Regions from separate parts of the Homo sapiens genome. Here region 1 is linked to region 2. Evidence: promoter capture Hi-C in 16 types of primary human blood cells and fetal thymus (Javierre and others, 2016). All regions are on one chromosome and are shown on one strand. Each heading gives the region's core, a stretch centred on a gene start or on the middle of the fragment in contact. The rest is flanking DNA. Distances are from core to core; before and after follow the strand shown.

The links. The method cuts DNA at HindIII sites, captures the fragments that hold promoters and counts their contacts. A CHiCAGO score of 5 or more calls a contact.
Region 1: a contact is called between a fragment that was not itself captured here and the fragment with the promoter of FBXL17 in region 2, in 2 of 17 cell types (naive CD8 T cells and total B cells). The highest score is 6.3, in naive CD8 T cells.

The regions. Positions count from the first base shown.
Region 1 is chr5:109,364,103-109,366,802 of GRCh38, forward strand. All of the region lies in intron 5 of PJA2 (praja ring finger ubiquitin ligase 2), which reads right to left. Among named protein-coding and RNA genes, the nearest start is that of PJA2, 45 kb to the right of the region's middle. The HindIII fragment of the contact is 986 bases long and covers 901-1,886 here.
Region 2 is chr5:108,380,674-108,383,373 of GRCh38, forward strand. FBXL17 (F-box and leucine rich repeat protein 17) reads right to left here and starts at 1,425. Exons shown (of 9, transcript NM_001163315.3): 1 at 26-1,425. The coding sequence starts at 1,018. RefSeq lists silencers at 276-355, 376-1,125, 1,326-1,575 and an enhancer at 1,676-1,795. The HindIII fragment of the contact is 13,285 bases long and covers 1-2,700 here.

The DNA of each region.
Region 1 (2,700 bases), core at 144-2,643, 980 kb after region 2:
ACTGCACTCCAGCCTGGGCAACAAAGCGAGACTGTGTCTCAAAAAACAAAAACAAAAAAGGACTCATCAACAAAATGTACTGGGACAACTGGGTATTCGCCCGCAGGGAGGGAGGTTAAATCCCTTAAATAAACTTTAGCTATACTTTTTTGAAGTACATGTGTATATGCACCCCCCACCTCACTTAAACAATGAGTACGAGAATAGTCATGAGGAAATTTTATAAAAATTTCAGTGTCGGCCGGGCGCGGTGGCTCACGCCTGTAATCCCAGCACTTTGGGAGGCCGAGGCGGGCGGATCACGAGGTCAGGAGATCGAGACCATCCCGGCTAAAACGGTGAAACCCCGTCTCTACTAAAAATACAAAAAATTAGCCGGGCGTAGTGGCGGGCGCCTGTAGTCCCAGCTACTTGGGAGGCTGAGGCAGGAGAATGGCGTGAACCCGGGAGGCGGAGCTTGCAGTGAGCCGAGATCCCGCCACTGCACTCCAGCCTGGGCGACAGAGCGAGACTCTGTCTCAAAAAAAAAAAAAAAAAAATTTCAGTGTCATTCTAAGCATGATATAAAACCCTGAAGTCACAAAATTTGGACACAAAACTCAAACTGAGAAACGTGAACTACAATACAAGAGAGACAAAGGGCTTTTCCTTAATCAATAGAAGCTTAAAATGTAAAAAAAAAACTGTAAGAAAAACATCAATATATATCAACAGAAAGGAGGCAAAGGATATAATAATTAGCAGAAAAGGAAATTCAAATAGCCCTTAAATATATAAAGAGATGCTCTGCCTCATTTATAATAAGCAAAATGCAAATTAAAACAACTGAAATATGTTTCAACTATTAGCAAAAATAAAAAATTCTGATAATACCCTGTGTGTTGGTGAAGCTCTGAAGAAAGCTTTGAAGAAAGGCAATTCATATAGTGTTGGTAAGAAAGTGACTAATTTAAGTTCTTTGTAGAGAAACCCGGCAAAAGCTATAGATTAGGTTTATGCACACTCACTGACCTAGTGGTTCGGCTTCCAGTTATTTCTCCTAAACATGTACAATGTGTTTTTTATTTTTTCTTCAGCATTACTCACAATAGCCAAAACTGTCCACCAAATGAAACTGGTATACTCATGTAGTAGTATACAGTAAGTTCTGACTTAACTTTATACGAGCTTCTTAGAATATGTGACTTTAAGCAAAACAAGGTAGAACTATGCAGACTTAAAATGAATAAAGGAAATCTATATGAATATGGAACAATCTAAAAAACAGATCTATAAACAAAACAAATAACGAAACCAAGGTGTACACATATGTCTACACAATGTGCTACCGGTTGCATAAAAAATGAAATGGAACGTGTACACATATATGCTTTTATGTGTACGGAAGATCTTTAGAAGTTCAAAAAGGAAGCTGGTTATAATGGTTTTTAATTGGTCTTTCCATACTGTCTAAACTCACTTTTTATTGTTGTATGAATCCTTTTTTTTTTAAAACAACTGTAATTTCATCTGTTTATCAAGAGAAGTTCAACCAGAAATAGCTACCCAAGCAATAAACTGTTAGCAATTCATTAAATATTTCCAAAGCACTCAAACTTGTGTCATTAAATCTGTATTCACTCTTACTGGTATTTCAGAAACCATCCCTTTAATTATGCAAAGTACAATAGTGAAAAGAATTTTTTTAGTTTCATGAGTCATGTGACCAATTATTAAGGAGTCACACAGTTGTTTGTATATTTAGCCTAAAGATAGCTAAAACTAACAGATGTTTAGCAGATGCTTAACAAATTTTAAAACCTTGAAGGTTTTCTCAATTTCAACCAAAGTACAGGTTATTTTCTCCCTTTGGTCAAAGCTCTATTGGTGTCTATCTAGACAACTCAAGCTTTTGAAAATGTACTAATTTATTCCCATTTTTTATTCTTCTTTCTGTTCCATCCCAGATATTAGAACTTTTTTTGGGCTAGATTTAATTAGGTTGTCATAATTATGCAATTGACATTTGGTGTACTACATCATTCTGAATGAAATACATCATTCTGAATGCAAAATATATTAATTGGAAAGAGACTTGTGATCTACACACATCATGGTAATACAAAAACTACCTTACTAAATAGTCTGAATCACTGTTAGAAAATAAAATCCAGGTTAGAGAAAATAAATATGTAATCATAGATTCATCAAAACAAGGCTGCTAGCTCTAAGAGCAAGTCTAAGGATGAAAAATGTGTGAGCAAAACCATAATTTGGCACTACAGTAATGTAAAAGACTAATTTTTGAAAAACTGGGCTTCTTAAATTACCAACATTCAATATCTCTGCTCTTGCTTTTTCTTTTGCTTAGAAAGTTCTTTCTGAACCCTAATTCTCATCTTTAAGAACTCAGCTCAAAAGTCAATTCTAAAGAGACGTCATCCCTGACCACTTTAATATCTTCATCATTTACCTTCTTTCACATCACTGTTTTATTCCCTTCACAGTAATCATCACATGTGTAATGTACTGGGTTTGTATCTTGGTTATCATCTGCCTTTCCTACTACAATGTAAGCTTCATGAAGGAATGTTATTTGTCTTTGTTTACTGATATAACGCCAATATCCAACACAATGCCTGGCACAAAGTAAATGCTCAATAAATATTTGCTGAGTGAATAACTGCTAACACAAATGACATATGAATAATTTATACTTAG
Region 2 (2,700 bases), core at 175-2,674:
CCCTGCGCCTCTCGCCCAGACCCACCTTGAGCAGGATGGACGGCGGCAGCTGGTTGATGTCTGGGGTTTCGGGGGGCGGCTCCCTGTGACAGTCGCAGGGGTTTTCGGGGGACTCCCGACAGTCCGCGTCGCCACATTCATGCTGCTGCTGGGCGGACAAGGGGGCGGTGCCCCCGGCTCGGACAGCGTCCCCGCCAGCTTCGGTGGGGGCACCTTCGGAGGTGGGAGAAGAGGGCGGAGGGCAGAGCGGCTGCGGGGGCTGCTCCGGGGCCTGGCAGCAGCCGGCGTCGGGGGGCCGGGGCGGCGAAGCGCCTCCCCCCGCAGGCCCTCCCCCGCCACCGCCGCCGCCGCCGCCGCCGCAGCCCCCGCCGCCGCAGCGGGGCTGCTTGCAGGGGGTGCAGGCGGGGACCCCGGCCCCCTTCCGCTTGCACACCATTTCGGGGGGCGTAGGGAGCTCGGCCGGTGACGGTGTCGGCCCCCGGAAGAGCTGCACGGCGGCGGGCGGCCCCAGGAAGCGCACCGGCCCCAAGCTGGCCAGGAAGAGACTTCGGCCCTGCTGCTCCCAGGCGGCGGCCGCAGCCAGCCCCAACTCTTTGCAGCAGGAGGCGGGCGACGAAGCCGAGGCGGCAGCGGCGGCGGCGGCGGCGGCCGAGGATAGCAGGAAGCGGCGGGCAGCAGCGGCGCAGTCCTCGGCGGCCAGGGCCGCGTAGCGCCGCGCCAGGTGCTGAGAGGAGGAGGCGGCAGCGTAGGCCCCGTCCCGCGGCGGCGGCGAGAGCGGCGGCTCCTCCTCTGGGCCGGCGGGGGCGGGCGCGCCGGGACTGTGCACGATGAAGCAGAGCATGCAGGGCCCGCGGAAGAAGCAGTCCCGGCTCCGGGGCGCCGCCGGCTGAGGGGGCACCTTGGCTGGGGTCCGGCGGGGCAGCCTGAGGAGAGGGCGCCGGCGGCGGCACCAACTGCAACAGCGAGGCCTCTTCTGGCTCGGGCGGTTACGCGGCTCCTTCGAGAGAAGGTGGCCCATATAGAAGGCCCCGAGGAGGGGGACCGGGACGGGAGGGAGGGAGACCCAGAGAGGCGGGCTCCCGGCAGCGGGGCAGGCCGCTCGCTGGCTCGGCCCCCGGAGGGGTCGCCCTTCCTGCGCACACACACGCACACACGGGCACACACGCGACGGTGGGGGGTGGGCGTCAGCTGCGGGCCGCCGGAGTGCCCGACGGGGGCTACATGCTTTGCCCAGGGAAGCCGGGAGAACGATGGGCGCGAGCTTTGGGGACGCGAGGGAGGGAGCGAGCGAGCCTGCCGGCTAGGCGACCAGTCCGGGCCCGGCCAGCCGGCTCAGTCAGTCAGCGGAGCGGCCGGGGAAAGGCCGGGTCCCGCTCGGACCATTTTAACTGCGGATCCGCCGCCGGCGCGCGCACCCGCGACTCTGCTCGGAGCCGCAGGAGCGCGCGGCCCGTTCCGGCAGGGGGCGGAGCCAGTTGCGGTGGCGCGCTCGTGGCGGGGACGCCGGCACCCGGCTGCTCACCCGGGACGGCCGTCACACCGGCACTACGGGAAGAAGCCGGCCGGCTAGGGCACGGAGCTCTGGGCTTGCGGGGTGCGGCGCACGCCCCTCCCTCCCACCGCCTAAGGTTTTTCCGAAGCTGCTGGGCGTGCGCCGCGTTTCTGAGGCGGGAGGAGACACTTCCGAGCCAGCTGTGTGACATCCGTTTACACAGCCGCGCTGACGTCTCGAGGTGTAAGTTCAAGAGCTGCCATTGGCCGGGAGCCGCTGGGCTCTTCCCCTCACCTTCCACCCCTGTCACCACCCCTGACTCGGAAACCGAGGCCACTTCGAAGCCGCGAGGCGGGTTCCGCCGGAAGGGCCAGTGTGGGCGCTGACCGCGCTTCGGGCAGAGTGGCAGATGCGGCCCCTGGGTGATGCGCACCGAAGTCATGTGAGGGGTTGATTGGTTGTGCGGCACCACTGTTTACCCACTTGTGTTTTCTTAATTGTTGCGTACTACTGCCTTTCCACAACTTTATTTCAGAATGAAAGCATATATCAAATTACCTGTGCACAGCAGAAAGATAACAGCTTCCCCACCCAGTGAGCCATTCAACACCCAGGCTACAAACTGTAGATCACTTTATTGTCTACACCCTCGGAATCCTGTCTAGCCGTCTGTTGTATATTTTAAACATGACGGTGCAGTGCCTGCTATATGACAAACGTTGGTGATCCAGATGAGAAAGAGGAAACAGCTATGCAGGCAGTCCTTTAGAAGGTTTGACTATATCGAGGCTAAAGAGCTAGGGCAGCTGCTAGAGCGGTACCTGGTGCGGAGAGGTTAGCTTTCACAAGCGAAAAATTAGAGGAGGCAAATACCATGGGAATGAGCCACTCTAGTGAGAGAAATAAGAGGAGAAGGTGGAATGGAGAGTGCTTTAGGAAGGATACTTTCTTCATTGTGATTACAGAGAATGAGGAAAGGTAGATAAAGGACGGATACAGAGAGGTGGATGTTTCTAGCAGGAAGGTGAAAGAGTTCCTTTCTGTTGGTTTCTGTTTTGCTTCAGATAGAGCTTGGTTACCTGCTGAAGGGTGGAAGAGAAGTGGCAGGTGTTTAAAAAAAAATCTGCTAAGGATAACTTGAGAGAGCTGACTGAGGAAGAAGTATTGCAATATTCAAGGCCCAGTGGCTTGGAGAAGACCACTGTTGG